Regions from separate parts of the Homo sapiens genome. Here regions 1, 2 and 3 are each linked to region 4. The links are contacts of gene promoters, found by promoter capture Hi-C in blood cells and fetal thymus (Javierre and others, 2016). All regions are on one chromosome and are shown on one strand. Each heading gives the region's core, a stretch centred on a gene start or on the middle of the fragment in contact. The rest is flanking DNA. Distances are from core to core; before and after follow the strand shown. Region 1 overlaps SLIT3 (slit guidance ligand 3). Region 2 overlaps SLIT3 (slit guidance ligand 3). Region 3 overlaps SLIT3 (slit guidance ligand 3). Region 4 holds the start of SLIT3 (slit guidance ligand 3).

Region 1 (3,231 bases), core at 113-2,612, 350 kb after region 4:
AATAGTGGGCAAGCACCCACTGTGTGCCAGGCAGTGCATCAGGCCCCGGACAAGGCAGGGGTGTTGCTGGGGTGGCGCGTCAGGTCCGGCAGAGAAGGGAAAGTGTGGCACACAGTCATTCACTGCCCTTCCTGTGGGTGGCAGTTTTCAGGATAATAATAAAAACAACTTGGCCAGGCATGGTGGCTCAGGCCTGTAATCCCAGCACTTTGGGAGGCTGAGGTGGGCGGATCACTTGAGGTCAGGAGTTTGAGACCAGCCTGGCCAACATGGCGAGACCCCCATCTCTACTAAAAATACAAAAATTAGCCGGGTGTGGTGGTGCATGCCTGTCATCCCAGCTTCTCAGGAGGCTGAGGCAGGAGAGTTTTGAACCCAGGAGACAGAGGTTGCAGTGAGCCAAGATCGAGATTGTACCACTGCACTCCAGCCTGAGTGACATAGCAAGACTCCATCTCAAAAAAGAAAAAAACAAAACAACAACAACAAAAAAACTACCTTTCAGGCTCTCCTTCCCCATTATTGCCCAGCCCCAGCCCTTGGGTCTGCATCCAGCCTCAGGCCCTGCATGTGGGGCACATTCTTCCAGGAGGATTCCACCAAGCCAGCTCAGTGTATGAAGAACCAGGCCCCCACTTTTCACACTGGCAGCCCTGGTGCCTCTGTCAGCCAGGACCCAGGTGGCCCTGCCCCTGACCTGGGCACAGCTGTGGGGCAGAAATCCTCAAGGCCCACCACCCCAGCCTGTTTTTTTTCTTCCTATGCCTCCTTTTTGGGCCACAGTCCCATGCAACATCTCTGCACTGCCACCTCCTGGCCAAAGAGAGCAGTGAGCAGGGGCCTGGGGGAGTGGAGTCCAGGCACCAGGGCGGCAGACGGTGGCTCTCCCTGCAGCTCCCGAGGGACCCAGGGAACATCCCAGAGTGCAGTCTGCAGAGATGACACCCACAGGCCAGGGAAAGGTGATGGGCAGCATCAGCCCAAATGTTCCCCCAGAAAAGTCCCCAGCAGAGGCAAGCATCTGTTTTTTCTCTCGTTGCATTTCTCTTTCAGCCTTTTAGTTTATATTGCCCTTGGTTTCTGTTTAAATGTTTAAATACTTGCATATTTATGTGTGTGTGTGTAGGATCTAATTCCTTTTGTGCAGTGTATGTTTCTTACTTCCATAGACAATACTGACTTTCTCATGCAGATCAAAACAAAGGGGACACCACAATATATAGAAACTAGAAAATGCTAGTGTGAGACATAATAGTAATAATAACAATACACCCCCATACATTCACCATTTAATTGTGAAATCTTTTCTCTTTGAAAAAAAGACTGAGCTAATTTTTAGTTCCAGAAACCTGTTCTCTATCATCAGATGGAGCTGATAAAAGGCTTTGCAAATGGAGAGGTGTTCGAAGGGGAGGGGAGCAGCTGTGTGTTCCAGTAGGTCAAGTTGAAGACACCCTTTCTAAACCCTGGAGTAACTGAGCAAAGAGTAGGGAAGGGGTGAGAATGAGGGATGAAGGCTGGGCTAGGGGGTGAGCGTGTGTCCGGTGTCGAAAGACCCCAGGCAGGCCGCAGAGGGGATTGTGGACCCACAAGCCCCCAGATGCCTGTCCTCTGATGATTCAGGGCCTGTGCTTGCAAATCAGCCCAGAAACCTGCAGAAGATGCTGGAGCCAGGTGGTCCCTGCCATCACCAAGCCTCTCCCCTGGATGTCACTGTTGTGCTGCGTGAACAAGGCTGGGGAACACTATGGGACCATGAGAATCCCTCCCTAACAGCCGCTGCCCCTTGGGGCTTGGGGAGGCACAGTAGGAAAAGGCAGGGCCCAGGCTATCTGCAGGCATTTGGGAGGTTGGGGCCCAATGTCTCCAGCCCAATGCTGCTGCCCCATGGTAGCATCTGTGGGTGATACTAAGGCTCTCTGGTCCTGTAGGTCCTGCAGCAGGACTGATTCTCTATTACAAAGAGGCTGGGGAGGCTGAGAGGACTGGGGTCAACTGAGTCCCCTCCCTTGGTCTCTCAGGCCCTTGGATAGGTTCTCAAATCAGCAGCCATAAGAAAGAGCTAAAGGGTCAACGTGTATAGTGATTGCAAGCACAGACACAAGTCCCAATCCCAGCCTCATTGAAAACCAGCCAGGTAAACTCAGGGAAATTGTTTCATCTCAGAGCCTCACTGCTACCACCTACATTTGATGTGACTCCCCCCTAGCATTGTCGTAAGAATTAAATAAGAATACAGCACATAAAACTTAGTACATAGAGTGCGGCTATTATTGTAACAAGGAATTTAGAAACAGTACGCGAGAAACTTTCCAAGTTCATAGCCTGGGAGGAAAATCTTGTTTCTAATCCAATCATGACATTAAGCACAAGCCCAAAGATTAGAACAAATCAAGAGATATTTGGCCCAGGCCTAGTGGAACCACTGCCCTCTTTCTTTGTACATGGTTTTGGGTTTCCCTAAGACGCTGGCTGCCTCTTCACAGAGCCACATATGCATGCGTTTTGTTGCACGTGTTGGGAGGAGGAAACACCCGAGTTTAGCCCTAAAGCAGTCGGGATTGTTTTCTCTCTCTCAGTGTTGATATATTTGGAATAACTGAAAGCAGACCTAGAACATATTAAAAGTATAGCATGTGGAGAGGGTTCCAGGCGGAGACACAGAACCTCTGTGGAGAGGCCAGGCCAGAATGTGTGATCATCTCTCTTGCCTAAGACCGGATACTGGGCCGGGCGTGGTGGCTCATGCCTGTAATCCCGGCACTTTGGGAGGCTGAGGTAGGCAGATCATAAGGTCAGGAGTTCAAGACAAGCCTGGCCAACATGGTGAAACCCTGTCTCTACTAAAAATACAAAAATTAGCCAGGCATGGTGGCACATGCCTGTAGTCCCAGCTACTTGGGAAGCTGAGGCAGGAGAATCACTTGAACCTGGGAGGTGGAGGTTGCAGTGAGCATTGCGCCACTGCACATCAGCTTGGGTAACAGAGTGAGACTTTGTCTCAAAAAAAAAAAAATGTGGATACCAATCACGAAGCTTTTGATCTTCCTTTGGTTTTCTTTTCTGGAATGCAGTTTTGCATGGTCAGTCATTAAAGCAACTCCCTGATATGTTATCAGTGTGATGTGACTTTGTGGGGCATGAGCTAGCAGGGTCCCATTCCCTTTCCAGAAGTTGAGTGTCAGTGTTGCCAATCTTCTGAGCTGAACAGGTACCACCCTGGGGCCTCTC
Region 2 (3,316 bases), core at 812-3,311, 320 kb after region 4:
GGTGATCTTGGGGAGTTTACCTGGGGGATAAAGCTTGTGAGATCTCTACAAAGTGAGATGCATTTTATTGTATAGAAAGTGATGTTTTGATCCCTAAGTTTTCTGGAGCCAGTAGATATCAGGAAATCTGACTTAGCCTTTTGACATTCAAATCCATCTTGAATGAGAATGGCAATGTGGCTTGAGACAGGAGCATCAATTCATCCAGGTCTTCAGGTCAGCAGTATGACCCCTTCTTGCCTTTCAGTTTTAACTATTCCATGACTTCAATAACATGGGAAAATACATGATTATTCTTTCTCAAAAGAAACTAAAAATGTTTCAGTGAAATTACAAGGCAACAAGGGACCATGGGGATAATGATTGTGTTTGAAATAAGGTCTCAGAGCCAGTACAACAGGAGTCCCTCGGCATAAAATAACAAGATTACACTCCAGAAATATCTCAATCCATTAACCCTCCATCAGTTTAGTCCAAAGAGATTCTTACAAGGCCCTGATGATCCTTCGAAGCACCACTCAGCTAGAGTTTTAGTTCAGAGACAAGGCTGTACCCCAAATGTCAGCTCTAGTCCACTCTTGATTGTCTTAATTAATAAAAACTTTGTGAGGACTAAGCCCATGAGTCACAGGCCCAAACCTACTTAGTGCTTCTCCAATTATGTGTGGAGATGGATTTTTTTCTTAAAAGACTGCAACCTATAGACTAATACATTTGTAAAATACTATAAAAATAACTTACTAGAAAAATGAAATAAAGATATTGTTTTAGTCTGTTTTCTATTGCTTATAACAAAATACCTGGAGTTGGTTAATTTGTAAGACATTAAATGTATTTCCTTCAGTTCTGGAGGCTGGGAAGTCCAAGGTCAAGGGGGTGCATCTGGTGAGAACCTTCTTGTTGTTCAAGACTCTCTGAAGGGTCCTTAGGTGGCACAGGGTATCACATGGAGAGAGAGCTGAGTGTGCTAGCTCAAGTCTCTCTTCCTCTTCTTATAAAGCCACCAGTCCCACTCCTATGATAACCTGTTAATGTATTAATCCATGAATCATCTCTCAAAGGCCCCATCTCTCCATACTGCCACACTGGGAATTTCAACATGAGTTGTGGACAGGACAAAAACCATAGCAGATATACAGAATAGAAGCACAAATATTTAATTATTAGATTACACAGGCATAAAATTACATTTCAAAAAATATCAGAATGCACATAATTAGAAGAAAGGAAAGAATTACAAATCTGTGCATGTGGGTCATGGAAAGTGTGGTGGTTAATATCATATATAGGTGGTTAATATCATGTACACAAATGCAGCAACGTCACATTGCTATCATCATTTTTAGATACTCTCAACTTCAGTGTTTATGTCTTCAGGGACCTGTAATCAACAGTTCATGGACTGGCAATGATCACCTAAGAGTTAATGGGACTCCATTCTTAGCCTTCAGTGCCCTTAAACATCCAGGCTCCTAGAAGTTTCTTGGGAAACCAGATGTCTTTGATACAATAAGCCAAGACTCTAAGAATAATGTGCTTTACATTAATTCAAACCATTTATCAGAGGAATATGAGAGCAGATGCTGTATTTTAGAATTCAGACATGGAGTTATTGATCAAAGAAGAAATTAAGACTTATGGTTATTATAGTAAAGGGCAGGAGGGATGGGGGCAGCAGTGCTTGGAGTCCTGGATAACCCATTCAGCTCTATCTACAATAATGGAAGTCAGGGAGTGTTGGCAGGATCAGTGTCTGCTGATTAGGTCTACTCTTGGCTCCTCTGGTGAGGATTTGTTTTATTTTGATGGGCATAAGGGAGGCTCTGCGCATGGAACCTCCACCACATGCATTGGTGCTACTGCTTAGGAAGAGGGAGTGATCCTCCTGCCTCAGTCCTTGAGGCCCCCAAGCCTCATTGCAATCCCGGGAATCTGTCATCTTCACCTGTCTATTCAGATCCAATCCCCACCCTCTTTCTCCCCTACCCCCATTTACCAAAATCTGAACTGTTGCGTAGTCAGTCCCTATTGGCATGCACCCCACAGTGAGCCAAATGCATATTAATGAATAAACTGACACGTGGTCCAAATTACATGCTACACAAATTGTAGCAACTTTGCTTGTGTCTAATATCAGCATTGCGCACATAATGACAAAATCATACATTGAGATAGTTTCTAAATAGCGCCTTGCATGTGAATGTTGAATATTTTCAATGCTTTTATTCTTATTTAAAAAAATATCTTTTTGGGAAAAATATAAATTAGCAAAAAGAAGAAATTCATCTAAGTCAGTACTTGTATAGAACTAAATCATTCTTTTCCATAGCTTCATGGTATTTCATTGTATAGATTTACCAAAATGATGGTAACCATTGCTTTTGATGGACATTTGGTTACATATTCAAATTTTTTTCACTTTACATCGTAAACATTTTCCCACATCACTAAATATTCTTCTACCCTAGTGTCTTTAATGACTGAATACTTGCATGGTATTCTATTGTATGGATATAATGCTAAATTCAATCAGTACCATATAATTACTTTTCTCCCAAACTTCTGCTGTTATCAATAGTGTTACTGCTGATACCGTTGTAAATCTATCTTTGTCTGCCTTCATAAGTATTTCTTGGGTTAAGTTCTTAGCCTTGTAGCCCTGGATCAAAGGGCATGCAATATTCTGGGGCCTTCCTGAAGCCTTGCCATATTGCCCAAGTTGAAATATCATGTGGGAGGTGGAAAGAGCTTGAAGTGTGGAGAAAGACAGGCCTTGATCCTAATCTTTGCTCTGCCACTTACCAAGCTGGGTGACCTTTGCCAAAAACTGATATTCTCTGAGCCTCAATTTCCTTGTATAGCAAAAGGATGAAAGTAAAAGCATTTACTTCGTAGGACGGTTTTGGGACTCAGATAAAATCATGCATTTTGAGCCTTCTGTGGGAAGCAGCCTTCCCCTTGGTCATTTTGGAATGGTGTACAAGCAAGGATGCATTTTTAATTCAGTCTGCCTTCTCCATCAACTTTTACACGCATCTCAGAACCCGGGCACCACTCCATAGAACATTTTAGCCAGGGAGGAGAGGGCGTGGGGGCTGGAATTTCAAAGGCATGTAGAACTGGTCTAGCTCTCTTATAATGTGAACAAAATTTCCACAAACAAATGGTTACTAGATAAAAAGGGTTTGGGATTGGAGTCTTTTGAGGGCTGTGTCCCCTGCTCTAAAGTGTGGGGCCTCGGAGTTGTGTGTTTTTGCTGCTTGGTGAACAGGATGACAATGTCTGGTTCTGAAATCCCAGGAGCTGAGGGAAGCCC
Region 3 (3,488 bases), core at 590-3,089, 300 kb after region 4:
CTAATTTTTGTATTTTTAGTAGAAACGAGGTTTCACCATGTTGGCCAGAATGGTTTAGATCTCTTGATCTCATGATGCGCCTGCCTCAGCCTCCCAAAGTGCTGGGATTACAGCCACCGCACCCGGCCATAACTTCTTAATAATGATCGCAGCATTTGTTGAGCACTGATTTTTTGTCGTCAATAATGATCGCAGTATTTGTTGAGCACTGATTTTAGCAAGTGATAGGCATTACTTTACTTCTGCTATTTCCTAAGAAGGATGGGGATACCCAGACCCCAAGTGGAAAAAATCATGAAGGGTCTTTGGGTCATCTCCCTACTCCAAGCCATGAGCCACAAGGCCATCGAGCTCAAGAGGAATGACTGAGCAGTCCAGCAGGTCCACTTTTGCATGGGTCTTCCCGTGCAAAAGCTCCCAGGTGGGCGTCCACTCTGTACCTGCAGCCCCAGGGCCGGCCCTCCATGGTGAAGCCAGGGCTGCCTTTGTGAGTCCCGTGGCTGCATATCCTCTGTCCACATTCCTCGGCTTTGACAGTGTGAGGCAGGGACTTGGGCTGTGTGCCTCCTCTGCAGACCTTCACCCTCTCACCCTATAGGGACACTGTCCAAAGTTTGTGGGAGGCAGCACTAGGAAGCCAATGTGAGTGGGGACCAGATCCCTGAGTCCTTCAGAGGAGTTCATCAGCAATGGAGCCCATGTTCTGGTCTCCATCTGCCTGCTTCACATGGGTCTGGAATTGGAAGGGGATGGGGATATGATTAGTTATCACTCAGCACCCCAAAATACCCACACAAGGCTCTATGTAGCTGTGCTGTTTTATTTGATCCAACAACCTTATGGGATGGGGGTAATTATTACTGTTTATCCAATCAGAAAACCAAATTAAGAGAGGTAAAGCCAGCAGCACAAGATGAACTGCTGCAGATCCATGCCTGCAGATCTGGGATTGAAACCTGACTGTATCCCACTCCAGAGCCAGAGGTCTTGAACCCATTACCAGAGGCTCTCATACTTGGAAGTTCATTCATTACCTCCTAAAGGGTGACTCACCTGTAATCCCAGCGCTTTGGGTGGTAGAGGCAGGAAGATACCTTGAGCCCAGGAATTCGACACCAGCCTGGGCAATGTAGTGAGACTCTGTCTCTAAAAAAACAAATTTAAAAATAGCTGGGCATGCTGGTGCACACCTGTAATCCCAGCTACTTGGGAGGCTGAGGTGGGATAATCACTTGAGTCTGGGAGGTTGAGGCTGCAGTGAACCATGATCACTCCACTGCACTCCAGCCTGGGCAAAAGAGCGAGATCCTGTCTCAAAACACACACACACACACACACACACACACACACACAGATTTCTGGGTCCCCTCCCAGAATTTCTGATTCAGTGGGACTGGGGTAGGGCCCAAGAATTCATATTTCTAACACATTCCTAGGTGACAGTGATGCTGCTGGTCTGGGGACCACACTTTGAGGACACATCTTTTCACCCTGTTCAATGGCCTTTTGTTTTGTTTTGTTTTGTTTTGTTTTGTTTTGTTTTGAAATGGAGTCTTGCTCTGTCGCCCAGGCTGGAGTGCAATGGTGCGATCTCGGCTCACTGCAACCTCTGCCTCTCGGGTTCAAGCGATTCTCCTGCCTCGGCCTCCTGAGTAGCTGGGATTACAGGTATGCGCCACCACTCCCAGCTAATTTTTGTATTTTTAGTAGAGACGGGGTTTCACCATATTGGCCAGGCTGGTCTCGAACTCCTGACCTTCTGATCTGCCCGCCTCAGCCTCCCAAAATGCTGGGATTATAGGCCTGAGCCACCGCGCCTGGCCCATTTCTTAGTTCTAACCTTCAAAGTTTACTAGTACATGGGGTGGCATCAAAACATTATAACTAGAAGAGTAACCTTAATTGGATGTTTAACTAAAATACCTACAACCTTGCATACAAGGCAGACCCTTTGGAGGCATTTTGGAGGTGGTGCTGGTTGTCCTTTCTATAGCTGAAAAGAAACAAGGAAGGGATGAAACGGATGTGTTTCATGTGTTTTAAGCCATGACAAAGTATTTCATTCTTCAAATACATTTTCTGGTGGCATTTTATTCTAGAGCCAATCTGGATGACTTTCTTTCTTGTAACTCTGTGAGATCAGCAGCCATCCCTGTGTCCCAAGTGACTCCCACAGTTTATTATTGAGAGCTTCCACCTGGCTTTGAATATGAACAGAGGAGAGAGAGGGAGGGAAGGGGAGAGATGGAGGGAGAGAGAGGGCATGGGGCGGGTAGAGAGAGAGAGCTTGGCCTCAAATTCTGGGAAAGGTTATCACATGAAGAATGGAGCCCTGATCTCTTTATAGACACTACAGATAAAGCCATGCAAGGGTTGCGGTGGATGTGAAGTGCCAAGGACAAACTCAGGTGTGCCAGAAATACCACTCCTTTGAACCTGATGTTGACACTTGAATCCCCATGTCATAGGCTGGTTGGAAATGCCGTGCCAGTTGCTACCTAGGTCTTCTCTCCTGTTTCCCTTCCAGGACCCCTCCCAGCAGAGTTAGGAGTTTGCATGGTGACCGGAAACAAAGGATGGTCATCAGCAGTCCCAGATCACCCAGGCCCACTGAGGTCTCCTGCATGCAGCAGCTCTGCATTTCTGGGCTTGGATGAGAAAGGGAATTTGGGGCAAGGCTTCTAGAAAGCCACGCGGCCATGACTCTGTGGGGTCTTTTGCCTCTCCCAAATCCTTGGGCCCCACGCATACCTCCCTCTACCCCCATCCCTTTCTAGTTTTGGAGAAGACCCTCCCTCTTTCAGTTAATTCTATTCTTTCACAATAGGACTTGATTCCACAAACCCAGAACCCCAAATCCTCTTTCCAGGGGGTACAGAAAAGTAATTGCAGTCTCTCCCTCTAAAGTGGGGGGATGGGGTAGGAAAAACAACAGAGCTCAAATTTGACACAAATTCTCAGTCGAAGTGTTTGCCCCTTCCCAACCCTCCAAATCCCCAGGGAGCCTCTGAGCCCAGCTTTTCCCAGGTCCCAGTGTGACCTCTCAGGAGACCAGCTTCCAGACCCTGTGTCTGGGAAGGTACAGGTGTCGCTCTTAGAGAAGGGGCACGCGATGCGTCACAGTCCCCTAGTGCACCAGGCATAAAACTGAGGGCCACAGGAGACAGGATTATTGATCAATGAGGCGGTTGATCCCTCCCTTTCATCATGATTTCTTGAGAGTGCACTAACCCGGCCTGACAGCTGTGAGGATGACCCACTCACAGAGACCTGCAGCAGTCAAGATGGTCCTGCAGAAGCTGAAAGGATCCTGAATGTAAATAGACCATGAGCCACATTCTCCCACACATCACTCCTCCACTCCACCCGGCTCAGGCCACCCACCTCCTGAGACAGGCCTGAGACTCACTTGCTTTTGCATCCCAGCGGAAGCCGTAAAAATATTGGTAGCTGGGGCCCCTCACCGTCAGGAGCACCACTTCCTATCA
Region 4 (3,374 bases), core at 750-3,249:
TGGGGATGATTGACTCTGAAGGAAATCCTCACCATCTGTTCTAAGGGGCTTCTCCCAGGAAAAGTCACACTTGAATGCCTATAAAGTCCCTTAAAGATACAGTCTGGCTCATGAAACCCCCCTGAGCAGCTTAAATGGAAAACGCAGTCCCCCACTGCGCTCAGAGCACAGATCCAGGACCAGCCCGAAGGGATTGCAAAACATGCTCTAGCATGCATTTGGGAAAACAAAGAAAACCGTACTGTTTTCTGCTCCAGACAGTCTGAGACGCTTTGTGCCCTTGGGCCCTTGCCCGGTTCTCTCATCTGCCTCAGTCCTGGTACTAAATTGGTTCAAGGTTTGGAGGAAAGCTTCAGAGCAAAGGGATAAAAGGATGTTTAGAGTTCTTAAATACCGAAGTCACCCTGAAGACCGGAGCATAGACCCTCGCCAGCCACCAGGGGGCGATAACAACAGCATCTGTACAGAAAGCCGTTCCCAAGAATAACAGCAGTAAATTGCACCTAATGTGTTTATGAATGATGAAGGGACTCGAGTGTGTGTGTTTGAGTGAGTGTGCGTATGTGTGTGTTTGTGTGTACGCGCGCGCAAGTGGGTGCCCAAAGCTAAGACTTTGAAAATCTGCTAAGTATAATACAATAAAATCTACAACTCTACTATATATTCACAGGATGTGGTCAAGTAGTTGAAAGTTTCCTTGAAGGAAAATGAGGTAGAAGAAATCAGAATAGTATTCTTATGAAAGAAAAGAGAAGCGCTCTCAGGAGTATAGTTGTCACTATGTGAGTGTGTGTGCGAGCATGCATGTACACGTGTGTGTGATTGCCGGTGTATAAATGGGTGTGTGTGAGCCTGAGTATGTGAGAGTGTGTGCGTGGCTGTGAATACGTAGGCACCAGTGTGTGTGTATATATATGCAGGGCTCATTCAGGCCTTCTCAGTGTGAGGGGACCTCAAGGAAATCTGGGCAATACTTCCTCCAGTTCCTGCCCTTTCCTTTCAAACAAACAAACAAAATCATTCCTACAAGTATTTATGGAGCCTCTAACGCACACGCCCCTCCCCACTGGCATCTGGAAAAGCTCAGACCTAGCCAATTTAAAGCGGGCGCTGGAAGAAAGAAGGCGCTGGGGACAGAAGGGATGCCTCGTCTGCGAATGACTTTTGCAAAAACACGTTCTCTTCTGTGATGCTCCAAACAACCCAGGGAGGTGAGGCCAGGTAGGACTGTGGCCCCGGATTTGAGAAAACGAAGGCTCAGAGATGACACGATTGGCCCAGAGTCACCCAGTCAGGAAGCAGAAACCCGAGGATGGAACAAGGCATTGTCAATCCAGGGGTCCAAGTCGCTGCCATCACTACTTTTACCAGTCCACCAAGCGCTGGGTCTGGGCAAAGCAGGGCAAGTTTCCGGGTAAGGTTTGCCAGCAGTGACCTCAACAACATGGACCACGGTGTGTGTGTGTGTGTAGCTGTGGAGTACATTGGTGTCAACCAAGGCTCTTCAGGCAAAATTGTGGATCTCTGCCATGAGTACTAGGTGCGGTAGGGAAGCGGCTTCGTGGGCGACACTGCCATGGTTTGGCGTCCCTAGCAGCTGTGCGACCTCCAGCAAGTCGCTTCACTTCTCTGAGCTGTTTTCAGACGACCCCTTGGAAGATCGTGGACTTAAGTAAAGAATATGAGTAGAGTGCTCAGCTCAGTGCAAAAATTAAAAAAAAAAAAGTGTCAGGAGCCTTATCCGTCCTTGGATCTTAACAGTGAATGAGTTTCAGTGTTTCTTTCCAGGGGCCCTGCTGGCCGAGCCCCTTTCCTTCCCTGGTTCCTTCTCTCTCCCTCCTCTACTGCCTCCTCCCTCCAGGCTCTCGGTCGCTCCAGCAAAGTTCCCAACTTAGTCGACATGACGCGCGGCGCAGCCAATGGGAGGCGGAGTTGGCGTTTCTTGGTCGGGGGGGGGCCGGAGGGGTGGGCCCCGCGTCTCCGGTGTCTGCCGTGCTCACTGAATGGAGAGAGCGAGCGCCGGCCAGCTCACCCGGCCGCCCCGTGCCCCAGCCGCAGCCGCCGCGCTCCCCAGCCCAGCCCCAAGCCGGACCTCCCCGGGCGCCACGCCCCATTGCGCTCGCCCCAGGTCCCCAACCCGGCCCGCGGGCCAGCGGGGCCAGGGGGCGCTCCGCACCTGGGCACTCCCAGCGATGCGCAGCGGGGCAGCGCCGGCCCCGCCGATGGAGCTGCTGTTGCTGCCGCCGCCGCCGCCCGGAGCGCCCCGCTCCGCCCGCGCCCCGTGCGCCTGAGCACCGAGCTCGCCCCTCCTCCGCGCTAACTCCGCCGCCCGCTCCCCAGGCCGCCCGCGCTCCCCGCGCGCCTCCTCGGGCTCCACGCGTCTTGCCCCGCAGAGGCAGCCTCCTCCAGGAGCGGGGCCCTGCACACCATGGCCCCCGGGTGGGCAGGGGTCGGCGCCGCCGTGCGCGCCCGCCTGGCGCTGGCCTTGGCGCTGGCGAGCGTCCTGAGTGGGCCTCCAGCCGTCGCCTGCCCCACCAAGTGTACCTGCTCCGCTGCCAGCGTGGACTGCCACGGGCTGGGCCTCCGCGCGGTTCCTCGGGGCATCCCCCGCAACGCTGAGCGCCTGTGAGTACCCCTGCCCCACCCCACGCGGGCCACCCACCTGGGTCCCACCGAGGGGGCCCCAGGCGCCAGATCCGTCCTTTCCCCTCGGCCTCCCTGGATGCAGTCTCTATTCTCATCCCTTCCTGGATACGATCCCTCACTCTCCGAGCTGGGGGTCTGTAGGCTTGGTCAGATCTGGAAAGAGAGGTCTCGAAACCCCCAGCGATGGGCAAAGAGCAGTGCCTCTCCAGGGGTGAGGGTTCCAGACGCAGGGCCCGCTGACAGCTTCCAAGGAGTAGCTGAGGAGAGGCGAGGGGAGGCAAGAGCACTGCAGCCTCAAGGTCTTAGGGTGAGGGTCAGGGGTCTGCGCTCGTTAAAAAGGGGGGCGGGCGAAGGAGAAAGCTATAGGATGATGGGCCGTCAAGGCGCGGAGGCGGGAGAGAGGGCCCGAGACTGTTGACCTGCTTGGAGATCAGAATGGGCCAGCCGCTCTCTGGCTGCCCTTGCAAGGAAAGTTGAGAGTGTGGGTGAAGGTTTAACTTCTGAGGAACTGGACAGATTCAGAGTGGGTGCTCGCAAAACCCGCTCTGCCTGGAGCGCAGTCTGGGAGATGCCAAGTTGCAGCCCCGGGTGAATTTTTTATGGCTCGGTTATAAATGCCTCCCCGAACGAAGGGGCCGGAGAATGGAAATGCTGACAGCCCTTCAAATGAGACCGAGCGTTATAATCTTACAAACCGCACTCAGCCTCAGATCCTGGGCTTGGCAGCG

Evidence for each region. Contacts are between HindIII fragments. The CHiCAGO score rates a contact against its expected background, and 5 or more counts as called.
Region 1: a contact is called between a fragment that was not itself captured here and the fragment with the promoter of SLIT3 in region 4, in 1 of 17 cell types (megakaryocytes). The highest score is 6.8, in megakaryocytes.
Region 2: a contact is called between a fragment that was not itself captured here and the fragment with the promoter of SLIT3 in region 4, in 1 of 17 cell types (megakaryocytes). The highest score is 10.5, in megakaryocytes.
Region 3: a contact is called between a fragment that was not itself captured here and the fragment with the promoter of SLIT3 in region 4, in 1 of 17 cell types (megakaryocytes). The highest score is 6.7, in megakaryocytes.

What each region holds. Positions count from the first base shown.
Region 1 is chr5:168,945,032-168,948,262 of GRCh38, reverse strand. The region is part of intron 4 of SLIT3 (slit guidance ligand 3); the gene reads left to right. Among named protein-coding and RNA genes, the nearest start is that of SLIT3-AS1, 67 kb to the left of the region's middle. The HindIII fragment of the contact is 3,353 bases long and covers 1-3,038 here.
Region 2 is chr5:168,979,992-168,983,307 of GRCh38, reverse strand. The region is part of intron 4 of SLIT3 (slit guidance ligand 3); the gene reads left to right. Among named protein-coding and RNA genes, the nearest start is that of SLIT3-AS1, 32 kb to the left of the region's middle. The HindIII fragment of the contact is 4,051 bases long and covers 36-3,316 here.
Region 3 is chr5:168,996,759-169,000,246 of GRCh38, reverse strand. The region is part of intron 4 of SLIT3 (slit guidance ligand 3); the gene reads left to right. Among named protein-coding and RNA genes, the nearest start is that of SLIT3-AS1, 15 kb to the left of the region's middle. The HindIII fragment of the contact is 5,072 bases long and covers 1-3,488 here.
Region 4 is chr5:169,299,764-169,303,137 of GRCh38, reverse strand. It overlaps SLIT3 (slit guidance ligand 3), which reads left to right and starts at 1,999. Exons shown (of 36, transcript NM_003062.4): 1 at 1,999-2,625. The coding sequence starts at 2,429. The HindIII fragment of the contact is 7,800 bases long and covers 353-3,374 here.